3 separate regions of the Homo sapiens genome follow, and regions 2 and 3 are each linked to region 1. The links are contacts of gene promoters, found by promoter capture Hi-C in blood cells and fetal thymus (Javierre and others, 2016). All regions are on one chromosome and are shown on one strand. The core of a region is centred on a gene start or on the middle of the fragment in contact, and the rest is flanking DNA. Distances in the headings are between cores, read along the strand shown. Region 1 holds the start of SIGLEC1 (sialic acid binding Ig like lectin 1). Region 2 holds the start of LINC01433 (long intergenic non-protein coding RNA 1433). Region 3 has its middle 64 kb from the start of SMOX.

Region 1 (4,495 bases), core at 1,234-3,733:
GCGCCTGCCACCAGGCCCAGCTAATTTTTGTATTTTTCGTAGAGACAGGGTTTCGCCACGTTGACCAGGCTGGTCTTGAACTCCTGGCCTCAAGCGATCTGCCCACCTCGGCCTCCTAAAGTGCTGAGATTACAGGCGTGAGCCACCGTGCCCAGCCTACCTAGTTATTTTTATTTATTTACCTAGTTTGCTGTATACTCAAGGAAATGACAGGAAGCAGTGCTCCCTGACTAATCAAGGTAGACAAGTCTTTGCTCTCCTCATGCTAAGGAAAGGTAAGCAAGTTCTGGGTGTGTTGTTCTGGGACTTAGGCCTTGTATCATCTTGCTAATGTAGCCACAAAATTCTCAGCAGCATCCAGCAATAAATTCACGCATCCACAGGTTGACTGGTCTGGTGGACGTAGGCTGGGCTCAGCTGAGTTTTGTTTCAATCCATGGGTCTGATTCAGGTCATCTGCATGTGTTCGTCATCCTCTTTGGACCAGCAGGTTAGTTGGAGCCTGCCCCTTGCATGGCAATGACAGAAATTCAGGGGGAAAGGCAAACTGCTTAAGTACGTTTCAAGACTTAGTTTGTGTCATGTCCGTGCACATCCATTGGCCAGAGCAAGTCATATGACTAAGGTCAAAGTCAAGGGATGCTTTCCCACCATGAAGCCAAGGGGTGGATGTATAGAGTCCCAGTGGACTGAAGGATTGGTACCCATGTGTCACAACCCCACAGGCCTAGAGCTGGGTGTCTCCGGACCAGCTGTTGAGGGAGGAAGTAATGGGATGAACCCTTTGTGTTTTGGCCGAAAGAGGAAATGGCCCAAGCATAGGAGTGGACACAGGAGCTATAAAGAGGAACAGAGTGATAGAGACCTAATATCTCTGTAGCCTGAGCATTTCAGGGTGGAATGTCACCAGACATCTGCTTTGGGGCACCATGGCCTGCGATTCTGGATCCACCCTGATTTAGGGTTTCACATCCTTTTACACCTGCACACGTGGCCTTGCCCTCAGGGTACAGGGGCCTAATTTGCTGTGGCCAGCTCCCCACCAGTACAGGTAGGCAGGGACTGAGTTGAATTAAGTTTGAGTTGTGAAATTAAAAAAAAAAATGGCCAGGAGTGGTGGCTTACGCCTGTAGTTCCAGCACTTTGGGAGGTCGAGGTGGGAGAGTCACTTGAGCCCAGGTGTTTGAGACCAGCCTGGGAACATAGGGAGACTCCGTCTCTACAAAATAACTTAAAAAATTAGCCGTGCATAGTGGCAAGCGCCTGTAATCCCGGCTTCTTAGGAGGCTGAAGCAGGAGGATTGCTTAAGCCTAGAATTTCGAAGCTGCAGTGAGCCAAAGTGAGCCAAGATTGCACCAGGACACCCCAGCCTGGGCGACAGAGCAAGACACTGTCTCAAAAAACAAAAACAAACAAACAAACAAAAACCAAAAAAAGTCTTGTTGCTTGTATCTGGGATTGCTTGGAGCAATTAACATCTGCTTCACATGTCAAGTGCCTGCACAAACTAGGCCCTCAATAAGATGGGCTGCAGTAATGTAACAGTAACTAGCTGTGGTGGGGGCTTTCCTTTCCTGTCCCAAGGTGGGGGTGAAGGTATAGGATAGTGGCCGGGTGCAGCGGCTCACCTCTGTAATCCCAGAACTTTGGGAGGCCGAGGCAGGCAGATTACTTGGGGTCAGGAGTTCAAGACCAACCTGGACAACATGGTGAAACCCCGTCTCTACCAAAAATACAAAAATTAGCCGGATGTGGTGGTGCATGCCTGTAATCCCAGCTACTCGAGAGGCTGAGGCAAGATGATCACTTGAACTCGGGAGGTGGAGGTTGCCGTGAGCTGAGATTGTGCCACCGCACTCCAGCCTGGACGACAGAGTGAGACTCCATCTCAAAAGCAAAAACAAAACAAAAAGAAAAAAACCAACAACAAGAAGCCAAAAACCAAAAAACGTACAGGACAGTGAGAGGGGAAAGAGAAAACCTGAGGAGTGTCCTGGACATTGGGGCCTTATGTCCCCCACAACACGGGACTGCCTCTTGGGGGTTCTTAAGAGTACTCAGTGGTACAGGGAGGCTCCTGAATGGCTTGGAGAATAACTGCCTTGGTCTGGGCATCGTGTAGTGCATCCCCACCCCAGGCTGGGCGCGCCTCCCTCTCAGGTGTCAGGGAGGAGAGCTGTGTGCAGGAAGCCCCCTTCCACCTCCCCCAGCCTCCCTAAGGGGCTCAGAGAGAGTGGGGTGTGGATTTGGCTGGTGAATGGGAGTCCCCCACTCCATTTCTCACTTTGCCTGGGGAGGCTCCAGCGTTGCAGCGGTCCCACTTCTGCTTGCTGGAGTCCCTAAGTCCCTGGCCTTGCCGAGGGCCTTCCCCTATGGAGGTCTTTCCCGTTTTGGCATTGCGCAAGGCCTGCAGCTGCCTCCCTGACCAGCCTCTGGGTTGGACAGTAGAGCTGAGGCTTTGGGAAAGAGGAAGCAGCCCCTGATACGGGATCCTTCTCTCTTGAGCCGGCAGAGCCCTGGGGAGCCAGCTGCACCAGGAGCTCTTGGCCGTCCTTCCTGTTCTCCTCTCCGCAGGTCCAGCACCGCCGCAGCCACTTCCTTCTGTGGAGCAGGTACCCCTGTCCCTGGTCCCTGGGCCCAGAGGGTGAGTGGAGCATTAGGAGCGGGGCTGGGCTGAAACTGGCTGAGCGGGATAGGGGCAGGGGTCGGGGGGGGGCTCCATCTGGGTGCGAGTGGTGGACCCCAAACCAACCCAAGTCCAAGACACTAATCAAAGATGGACTCAACTGAAACCCTTCCACCACCCCCAAATCCTTCCAACCTGCATCCCAATCCCAGTCCCGACCATCACCCTGCTCTGACCCTACCTCAGCCCCAGCCCCAGCCCCTATTCCAACCTTATCTCACCCTCACCTCACTTGCACCCCAACCCTAACCATTTACTCATCTCATCTAATCCCAACCATCCATCATCCCAACCCTAACCACAACTCCGACTCTATCATCCTCATCTCAACCCAGCCTCCACCGTATCTTAACCATCACCTGCACCCAACTCCAACCTTCACCCTTACCCCCACCCATCACTCAACCTCAATGTCCACCCCAATCCCAGCCTTAATTTGCTTCCAGAATTCCAACCTGATCATCACCCTGACCTCAGCCCCAGCCCAGCCCAACGATAATCTCTCCTTACTCTAACCCCAGCACAATTCCACTTCATCCATCACCACTTCGTCCGTCCACAGGAGGGCTTCTGGTGCTGTCCAGCACAGTTTGGAGAGTGAGCACTCCAGCCAGAAGCATTTAGAGCCAGATTAAGGAATGAAGTGTGAAATTTCTACTGCCCATGTCAAAGCCAATAAGCATTAGTTATGGATTCTATGGCTCTGAGAATTAAACATTTGGCCTGTGATTGGGGATTTCCACTATTTTGACCATAATCTGCTCCAGGAATTGCCCATCCGTACCCTGACTCCCTATCTGTGGGCCAGTAACCTCCAGCTGGCCATGTCACCCTGTGTTCTTCCTTCTCTAGCCCAATGGGGAAGTTGGGGAGAAGCCTTGGTGTCAGGAAACAGAAACTGAATCCTACACCCGGGCCTAGCTGTCCATAGGGAAACTGCCTCTGCCCTTTCTTCCCCAGCTAAACTTGGCCTCTGGAATCAGAGGTCAGGGACTTGGGGCCCCAGCCAACCCTCCAAGACCTCCTGAGGCACTTGGTCTCAAACAGGCAGCAAACGTGAGTGCCCACTGTGTACCAGGCCAGCTCAAGCCACCCTGATGCAACACATACCAATAGTAGGAGTGGGGATTTAAAATCCTGTCTTCAGAGCACCCAAGACTTGGAGACCCAAGTATGAACCTCAGGAACCTCCTGTCTGGGGAACAATGATTTCCAAAAGAGTCACCCAAGGGAGGGATGGTTCAGGGCTGCAGAGCTGCCTGCTCCCTGTTGCTGGCACACCGCCCCCTTTCCCGGGACCCGCAATTCCCCCTCGACCACCAGGGGGCGCTGCGTGCTCACTAGGCCACAGCTGCAACCCAAGTTGCGGGGGGCGGGGGGCGGGGCACTGTCCCCTCAACTCCAGGCTTTCAAACAGGGACAGAGATCTCCTTTCTGAGCGGTCCCTGCTCTTTCTGTTTCCAGAACAGTTATCTGGGCTGAAGCTGGCCTTTGTGGTGACAGGCTGAGCCAATAGGCTGGATTCCGGTGGGGCTGACCCCTTTGGGGTTAGGGCCGGGCTAAGCATAGGTGGCCTCTACATTATGTGATGGGAGTGGTCCTGGAAAGGGTCCTCCCCCGCGCCCTGTTCCAGGGTCGCTGTGTCCAGAACCCCACCATTCTTCCATCAGGTTCACGATTGCCCTTTTCAGGACCCCAAATGGGAGGAACAGGGGAGCTGGGACAAGATAGCTGCCCTGGCCATAGCAGAGCTGACCCTGACATCCCCTGTGGCCAGGGACACATCTGACCCCCAGTGTGCCCAGCAG
Region 2 (4,495 bases), core at 1,492-3,991, 480 kb before region 1:
CTCGGTGCAGCAAGAGGGCTGTGTCCCCATCTGGGCGGCAGATGGCACCAGAGGATGTGGATCAGCCCTTGAGGTTGTCCTTGCTTCCAGAGATCCTGGAAGCCGGGGTACCCCCTACCCTGCCCAGCCACAGTGAGAAGGGGAGCCAGTCCAGCCCTTCCCATGTCTCCATCTGCAGCCTGAAGAACCTCACCAACAACCGCTAGTGCATGACAGTGAGGATGCCGCCAGAGCAAGTGTAGAAAATGCTGCTGTGCAGCTTGACTGAAGGAGAGGCCCAGGAAGGTGGTTCCCGAGGAAGGTGGCTGATGGGAAAGACATGAGCATAGTGAAATGTGGGTAGAAAGGATGAAGTAGAATGATAGGGGACGGAAAGGACGAGGCGACGTCCCTGCACTTGAGGCATGGGAAGCACAGGTGGAGGGTCAGCCTAGGAGAGGCAGAAGCCTTACCTGCCACTGTCTGCAGGGAAGCTCCAAAGGACAGGCATGAAGGCTGGTGAGCTTGTCGATGGGTGAGGAAGTTGCCTCCAGGTGGCTTCTATTTTGTCTATGAAGCAAGAGACCAAATTGCCTATTGACAAATGATGGTGGAGAGGGGTGTCCTCCGGATTTCCACCATTTATCTTGGCTTCTTCAATCCCTTGCTTATTCATTCTGCAAATATTTATTGATAACCTATTATGCTAGGCACTATTTTGGACTCATTGGACGTGCAGAAGTGAACATAGAACTTACATTCGGGGTTGAGGGAAAATAAATAAACACATAAACATCAAAACCAAAAACATCGGGGAAAGAGAAGGACTATGAAGAAACAGGCAGGATGAGAGAGCAGAGAGTGCGGGAGGCTGTGGAAACAAGGTGCTCAAGGAAGTCTTTTGCTCAGGAAGTCTTCCCAAAGAAGTGACATCTGAGTAGAGATCTGAAGGCAGCAGCAAAGAGCCTTGCAAATATCTGGGGTACGGGGGCATTTCAGTTAAGGAGGACAGCCAGGGTAAAGGGAAGGAGAGGGTGGAGAGGAGGTGCGACCCAGGGAGACAGATCACATAGGATGTTGGAAATCACCTTTGATCGTTAGCATGATGGTTGTTACTAAGAACCAGGGAAGTGGCGTGGCTGGATTTATATTTTGAAAGGATCATGCTGCTGCTGTGTAGAGGACAGGCTAAAAGGGACAGTCGTGGAAAAAGGAACCCCACTTAGGAGGCTGTTGCAGCCATACACAGCAGAGATGTGAGGAGCGGTGAAGGAGGCTCAAAGTCATCAGACTCAGGATGTGTTTTGTAGGGAGAGCCAACAAGATTTGCTGATTGCAAATCTGATGATCAGATGTGGAATATGAAAGAAAAAGGAGTTGATGATGGCCCAGGTGTTTGCCCTGGGCCAAATGGTGGTACCACTTACTCAAATGTGGAAGACCAAGGGTAGATTAGATTTAGGAAGAAGCAGAATTTCTGCTTTAAATATGTTAAGTCCCTGGAAAGATTCTGCAGGCAGTGTTGTTATTTGCTTTGCTTCGGCCAGCAGGTGTGGCTCTGTTTTTTTCCAGCAGCAACTGATGGTGGCCCAGCCGTAGCTGTAGACTGAATGCTGATTGGAATTGTGTCAATTGGCTTTAACAAAACAGGGGGTAAGAGAGTTGAGGGTATTAGAAAGAGACCCAGTGAAATGACAGACCAAATGTAAAACTCCAGTCCTGGAACCAATTTTAATTAGTTTGAACTGATCAGAAGTGACAGAAGCCTAACCCAAACTAATTTGAGCAAAAGAGGAGGAACCAATGGCTCAAGTAACAGAAAGCACACCCAAGTAGCTCATAGAAGAGAAGAAAGAGCTTCAAGGCATAATAAAGTGGCCACATGACCTTGAACTGGGGATGAAAGACAGCTGTGTAACCCCATGTGCCCCATGTATGGGAGTGGGATGGTAGCAGATCTAAGACAAAAGGGAGTAGCTGGGACTACAGTGAAATGGAGAGGGAATACCCAATCCAACGCATTGAAATTGCACAAACACAGAGTTTGCAGAAATAAAATGTGCCTAACACTTTGCATTCTCTGAGAGAGATCCAGGCTTTGAACGTTCTGGCAAAATCGGTGTTAAACAATCACCGCTAGAATCATGGGAAGTGAGAAGACTTTTGTACCTACCAGTCTCAAGCTGAACAGTATGAAACAGGGCAGTGAACGACCCCCTTTTTTAATATTAAATACATAACACAAGATTAGATGTCCTGGCTGCCACCTTAGTAGAGCAACAACTCTGCCTGCGTGTTGATGGCTTGATTGTCCTACACAAATAAGGAGTCTCAACAAACAGCCCAGCCAGTCATTATAAAGAATACAGCCTTCTGTAACTCTACCATTAAGTTTGGCAGACCACTAATTAGACAGGCAATTCTCAAGAACTGAACCAGCAGCCTAACTCACTCTGCACCTTGGAGTTACCCTTGAGCTCACCCCCAACAGGACCTAGTAAGTTAAGGTGACTCAAACTAGAGGTGCTTCACTCCTACATTTGTTTGCAGGAGGGGCAGACACTCCAGGCAGCTCCCAAGAAATAGGATATAACATATTACTCACCTGTCATACAGCAGCAAAGGCAGCAAGAGACAGCGCCTGCCAAATACCCCAGGCCCTTGGAGGACACAGTTCTGAGGTTTGCACAAAGCCACAGCTAAATACCTTCACCTGAAGTCCCTGATGCCCACAGCACGAGAAACCATGCAACCAATTCTCCATAGAACCTGGTGCAGGAAAGAACTTTCCTCTCCTGTGAACTTCTACCAGGCAATGGGAATTTTATAGGAATCATTGGCATGGGTGTTGGCCTGAGCGTGCCACATTTGCCACTTCTGATAGAGCCCTTTGGGTTTCAATCTATGCCAAGTCTATTGTGAAACTTCATCACAGCATGAAACATATCCTGTGTTCCTTGTACGTCATACCTCCTCACTTCTGAATGGCTCTTGCTCTTCCTTGCTCATCTGTAGTGAGTGAGTTTGGTTTTTGGAACTGTCAATCATAAATGGTATCCACATTATGCAATTATTGATGTGGAGGCAGCACACTGCAGGAGGTGCCCCCTCTGGCGCCTGTCCCTGCCTGTGTGTCCAAAGGCTCCCCCTCGGCTTCCTCCCCGGGTTGCTCCCTTCCCCACGAGGTCATGTCCTCTCCAAGCCGAGTAGCCTTGCATGGCCTCCCCGAGGTCCTTCCGAGAACCTCCATTTCCTCTGCTGTGGAACAATCCCAACCCCTCTTTCGTGGTTGCAGATGCAGAGAGGATAAGGGGATACAGGCAATGGAGCTGGTAAACAGTGACATCCTATATTAATTTGAGGTCACTGCTTATCACCAGGCAGCCAGTGGGGCCTAAGAGGGCCCCTCCTCCCTTTATCTGCTCTCAGATGTGTCATCTCTGCTGCAAGGAGGAAATTAGCTGGGCCAATATGACCATGTTTTGGAATGGGAGAATGGAGGGAGGCATTCTCAGACTCTTGAAACTTTCTTCCATGTATAACTTGATGCATTTTTACCAACGTGTATGCCCATGCAACCGCCACCCAGATCAAGATGTGGAACACTTCCGTTACCCCAGGAAGTGCCCCCATCCCACTCCTGCCCAGCCGCCACCCCCAGCCCCTCATTTCCAACACAGTAGATTAGTTTTGCAAGTTCTTGAACGTTACATAAAAGAAATCATATAGTACATAGCCTTTTGTCCGGCTTCTTTAACTCAACATAATGTTTTGAGGGTTTTTGTTGTGTTGTTGTTGTTGCTGTTGCTGTTTTGAGATGGAATCTTGCTCTGTTGCTCAGGCTGGAGTGCAGTGGCATGATCACAGCTCACTGCGGACTCAACCTTCTGGGTTCAAGCATTTCTCCCACCTCAGCCTCCCCAGTAGCTGAGACTATAGGCACGCACCACCATGCCCAGCTAATTTCTGTATTTTTTGTGGAGACGGGGTTTCGCCTTGTTGCCCAGGCTGGTCTTGAACTCCTGAGCTCAAGCAATCCACCTGCCTTGGCCTCTCAAAGTGCTGGGGGTACATGAGCCATCATACCCTGCCAACATAACATTTTTGAGGTTAATCCATGTTGTTGCAAATATCCATTCCTTTTATTTATTGCTATATAGTATTCCATTGTGTGAGTGCACTGGAATTCATTCTACTGTTGATGGACATCTGGGCAGCTTCCAGTTTTTTAGCTGTTAGGGTCCATGTTACTGTGGACACATTGGTATATATGTTTGGTGAGCACCTGCACGCCTTTCTCTTGGGTGTATACCCAGGGGTGGGAACGCTGGCAAGCACATGGCCAGTTTTAGCTGACTCCGCCACAGTCCCCCAGTGTGGTCGTACCACACCCACTCTCTCCAGCAATGGCCTTAAGCTTTTTTGGTGGCACCAGCCTCTTCTTTTCATCATACAATAGAACGAGCCTACACCACGCAGTCAGACAGACTTCAGCTCATGTCTCGGCACCTCTGAG
Region 3 (4,495 bases), core at 912-3,411, 370 kb before region 1:
TGATCTGAAGTCGAACAGTTTCATCCCAAAACCATCCCCTCCCCCCTACCCCGTCTGAGGAAAAATTGTCTTCCTCAAAACCAATCCCTGGTGCCAAAAAGTTTGGGGACCACTGGTCTACAAAGAATGCGCATGGATCAGGTGGGGACATGCTATGGTTTGAATGTCCCCTCCAAAACTCATGTTGGAATTTAACTCCCATTGTAGCAGGGTTGAGAGGTGGGGCCTTTAAAAGGTTGGTGAATGCCGTTATCAGTCAAATGGGTTAGTTATCCCAGGAGTGGTTTCCTGATAAAAGGATGAGTTTGGCCAGTTTTCTTTCTGTCTCACACATGTGCTTCCTCACCATGTGATATCTTCCACCATGGGATAAAGCAGCATGAAGTCTTCATCAGTCAGACACCAGCGTCATGCTCTTGGCCTTGCCAGCTTCCAGAACCGTGAGCCAAATACATTATTTTCTTTATAACTTACCCAGTCTGTGGTATTCAGTTATAGCAGCAGAAATGGACTAAGATGGAACACAAGAGAGGGAAGGAAGTGCAGAGAGAGGGGGAGAAGAGGGAATAAAACTTCCCCAGAGCTGCGGAGAGCCTACCCCATCTCTTCATCCCTGGGAATCAGGGAGGGGCTGCAGACACAGCCCCTAAGCCTGCTCTGCATGATGAGAAGCATAAAGACCTGACCCTACAGCGTAGTACCCTAAGCATGTTCCTCCTGCCTGCGATGAAAGGGGCTATCTCCCCACCCACATACAACCCATCTGCCTCAGGTGTCCACACCATGGAGGCAGAATGTCATGGGCTTGCTGTCAGACCATGTCAGATCATGCTGGGAGATAAATTCCCACCATTAACTCAGAACATGGTGGTGCTGGTTGTGGGGTCCTATGGCCAGAGCCTATGCCCTCGCTGTCCATGATAGCTGCATGGGGGGTGTAGGCTGGCACCAGCTACAGATGCCCTGAGAGCTGCTGTCCAAAGAGCTGTTCTGAAGAAGCTTTGCTGAGGGGCACAGGGCCGTGGGGGGAGAGAGAGGCAGCCGTGGGGGCGCCCCAGATGTTGCCCCATGCCCTTCCAGGGCCTGCCTGGAACTGAAGACACGAGCCCTTGTGAGAGTCAGAGGCACTCGGTCGGGCGCGGTGGCTCACGCCTGTAATCCCAGCACTTTGGGAGGCCGAGGCGGGCGGATCACGAGGTCAGGAGATCAAAACCATCCTGGTTAACACGGTGAAACCCTGTATCTACTAAAAATACAAAAAAATTAGCCGGGCGTGGTGGCGGGCGCCTGTAGTCCCAGCTACTCGGGAGACTGAGGCAGGAGAATGGCGTGAACCCAGGAGGCGGAGCTTGCAGTGAGCCGAGATCGCGCCACTGCACTCCAGCCTGGGCGACAGAGCGAGACTCCGTCTCAAAAAAAAAAAAAAAAAAAGTCAGAGGCACTCATCTGAGTTCCCACTTCAAATTGGCAGAGGTCAGGGAGGAGTCCCCACGATAGGACCTACAGGCTGGCAAAGAACGTGCAGGTGGAGGAGGCAAGACAGTGAGGTCACACCAAGGGGCCGGAGAGAGGTCATTCCATGACTGATGTTCTTGGAATCCGGAATCTGCCCTGCGTGCACAAAAATGCCCTCGGAGAGCACGGGGCTGGGGAGCTGGCAGAATCTTCACAGATGCTGAAGAGAGGCACAGCGCAGGCCCTCCCCTGAGTCTTCCCTGATGAAAAAAGGAGGCCAAGGGCAAAGCGGAGAGTGCCGGAGAGCCCTCATTCCTGTTCCCTCGCCACCTGGGGCCCGGGAACCAGACGGACCCTGCGTTAGGATGTGCCGTTGCTGCCTGACTTAAGGCTGGAAAAATACCACGCCCAAGGGTTGGCAGGGGGCTGTGGCTGACCACCAGGGGGCAGCTGTGAGCCCCATGGCCAGGCACGCGCATAGCTCTCTTCAGGGAAAGCAAGCCAGGCTTTCACTGACTGAGACCCTGCTTTAAAAATCTCAGCCAGTAGCTGCTCCCCTGAGCCCATAAGGAGTCCTCAGGTTGAGAGGTGTGCGATGTCCTCCAAGAAACCTTTGTCCCAATAGGCAGACCCCTAAATACCCCAACCACGTTTCAGTACCAAAAATGGGATCCTATACTTTAAAAACCTGACCTTGGTGTGACCCCTAACCCTGGCCTCAGACTTCCCCCAAACCCATTGCAATCCTTCATTTATTTAACCAGTATTTATTTAGCATCTACTATATACCAGCAGCCTATTAGACACCTGGGATTCTTCAGTGAACAAATCAGACAAAGACCCCTGCCCTCCTGGGACTTCTATTCTCTGAAAGGAAGGTGCCATTGAACCATCCACAGTTGCCCGTGATTGGCCAGAATGATTTGGGTGGCTCTGAATGAAGCCATCATGCAATTCAGCTTCGGACAGGTGACTCAAGTGGTTCTAAGGAGCCTCGCCTTACAGCTTGAGCATTAGGCCTCCTGACCATCAGACCCAGAGAGAGTGATGAAGACTGAGGACATCTGAGTCTAGGAGAGACTTCAACTTTTTGGCGTGTGACTTCCATTTCTTTCTCTCAAAAGTAGAGGATAGTGCCTTATTCTTTGAAATTTGCAATGTACTGCCTTTCGACTACAGGGCTTTCACAGAGCAGAAATCTGTTGCTTATTTGATCTGAAACTTCAGTGCTCAGAGAAAATATTCACCTCGGTCTCATTGCATCATTCTCTGAAGAAGGGCCTCTGGGTACCAGTGGCCAAAATCTCATCCTCTTATTCCAAAGATTGGTTCCCCTCTCTGTCTTCTCTCTCTGCGTGTTTATGGCACCATTCTTCCCCAGAGACCTCAGCTGGAAATCTCAGCCTCATATCTAATTCCTCTCTCTTTCTTCCCCAGATCAATCCAGACACCCATCAGTTCTACCTTCTAAATGCCTCTTGATCCTGTTCTCTCCTCTCCACCCCATAGCCACTGCACTGGCCAGGCCACCATCTTTGCTCACCCACACAATTGCCATGTCACAGTTGATCCCCAGATTCCTGTTCTGAAGATACTACTGTCAAGCCCCTGTGCATGGTGTCCTTCAGGCTCATTCGCTTCACCTGAGGGCCCAACCAGGCAAGCTCTCTCCCTGCTGCCTCCTGCCATCCCTACTTACCCCTCTGGACCTCTGCTCCTCTCCTGGCACCTGTACTTCCTGCAGCTCCTCTCTAAAATTTACCAAAATACTCTATCTCCACTTTCACCCTCCCAGGAAGCTCTCCCCAACCAGGCCATTCAAGTAATTCCTTCCTCTATAGCATCTTATTCTTCACTATCCAAGCTTACCTGGGGCAAAGTCCTGTGTTCCCGCAAAACTGTGAGCTCCTGAAGTCAGAGTCAGTCTTTGTCTCCTCTTTGGCCTCAACTAGTGCCTGGTCCCCATGAAGGACCTAGAAGATACCTGCTGCATGGCAGATAGAGCTAAAGGCATCAGTGGCATGGTTAAATCAACCTATGACACCTCAACTCTCAGAAATATGGAGTAGATGTGTTTTTTCCTATTCTTTCCAGTAAATATGGCTAAAAACCCTAGATACTGCCTATAAAACAAGCATCTGAAAGCAGAGAGAAGAAGGCAAACCAGCTAGGGACTTTGGGGCCTAGGGAATGACACAGCAATGAGTTCTCTGGGTTTATCTTTTTGGCTCATATATCCCAGACAGTGTGCAAAGAAGCCAGCATTCTGGAAACAACAATGGGAATAGATGCCCCACAAAAGCCCAAGAAAATCCTGCTCTGCTTGCCAAAGGACCAAGATGGAGTGGCCTAGCAAAACAGAAAACTTTTAGACAATGATCGTTCTGTGCCAGCCAAATACCATAGGAAAAAATGTAAGACCCCACCCCCACCCGCACCATCAAAGGCTGAGTGGGGAGCCTCGGCTTCATGGCTAGGCTCAGGCTGGACTTCACGGCTTCAGGCTATCATGAGGTTTCAATCTCCTTCCCCCTGGCCAGGCTAGTGTCAGAAAAAGCTGGGTGGGAAGCCAGGACTTTTATCCCGCTGGGCAGCAATGAGGTCTCCCTTCCCAGGGGTGTCAGTGGAGACCACATGGGAAGCCTGGACTTTCATTCCCAGCTGGTGGTAACGGAGCACCCCTCCTCCTCTCCCCCGCCCTCCTCCTCTCCCCCGCCCTCCTCCTCTCCCCCGCCCCCCTCCTCTCCCCCGCCCCCCTCCTCTCCCCCGCCCCCCTCCTCTCCCCCGCCCCCTCTCCAGTGGTCTCAGAGGAAGCCTGGTGGAGACTCAGGACTTTCGCAACTGCCAAACGGTAACAAGGCTATCCTGCTTCCCCACAGTATCAGTGGAGGTCACATGTGAAGCAGTGACAAGGGAACTCTGCCCCTCCCAGCCAGGGTGTTGTCGATGGAGACCTAGTAGGAAGCCTGAACCCTACCCACTGCCCAACAGTGATGAGGCGCTCCTTCCCTGACCCTGACTGTCAACAGAGGCAGAGTGG

Evidence for each region. Contacts are between HindIII fragments. The CHiCAGO score rates a contact against its expected background, and 5 or more counts as called.
Region 2: the fragment with the promoter of LINC01433 here is called in contact with the fragment with the promoter of SIGLEC1 in region 1 in 1 of 17 cell types (neutrophils); the score reaches 8.4 in neutrophils.
Region 3: a contact is called between a fragment that was not itself captured here and the fragment with the promoter of SIGLEC1 in region 1, in 6 of 17 cell types (naive CD8 T cells, naive B cells, total CD8 T cells and 3 more). The highest score is 7.7, in naive CD8 T cells.

Annotation. Positions count from the first base shown.
Region 1 is chr20:3,710,588-3,715,082 of GRCh38, reverse strand. SIGLEC1 (sialic acid binding Ig like lectin 1) reads left to right here and starts at 2,483. Exons shown (of 22, transcript NM_023068.4): 1 at 2,483-2,613. The HindIII fragment of the contact is 9,565 bases long and covers 1-4,495 here.
Region 2 is chr20:4,191,336-4,195,830 of GRCh38, reverse strand. It overlaps LINC01433 (long intergenic non-protein coding RNA 1433), which reads right to left and starts at 2,741. Exons shown (of 3, transcript NR_033917.1): 1 at 2,585-2,741; 2 at 453-549; 3 at 1-305. RefSeq lists a silencer at 414-595. The HindIII fragment of the contact is 5,002 bases long and covers 1-4,398 here.
Region 3 is chr20:4,082,830-4,087,324 of GRCh38, reverse strand. No RefSeq gene overlaps it. Among named protein-coding and RNA genes, the nearest start is that of SMOX, 64 kb to the left of the region's middle. RefSeq lists enhancers at 3,974-4,473, 4,474-4,495 and a cis regulatory region at 3,907-4,495. The HindIII fragment of the contact is 2,320 bases long and covers 1,002-3,321 here.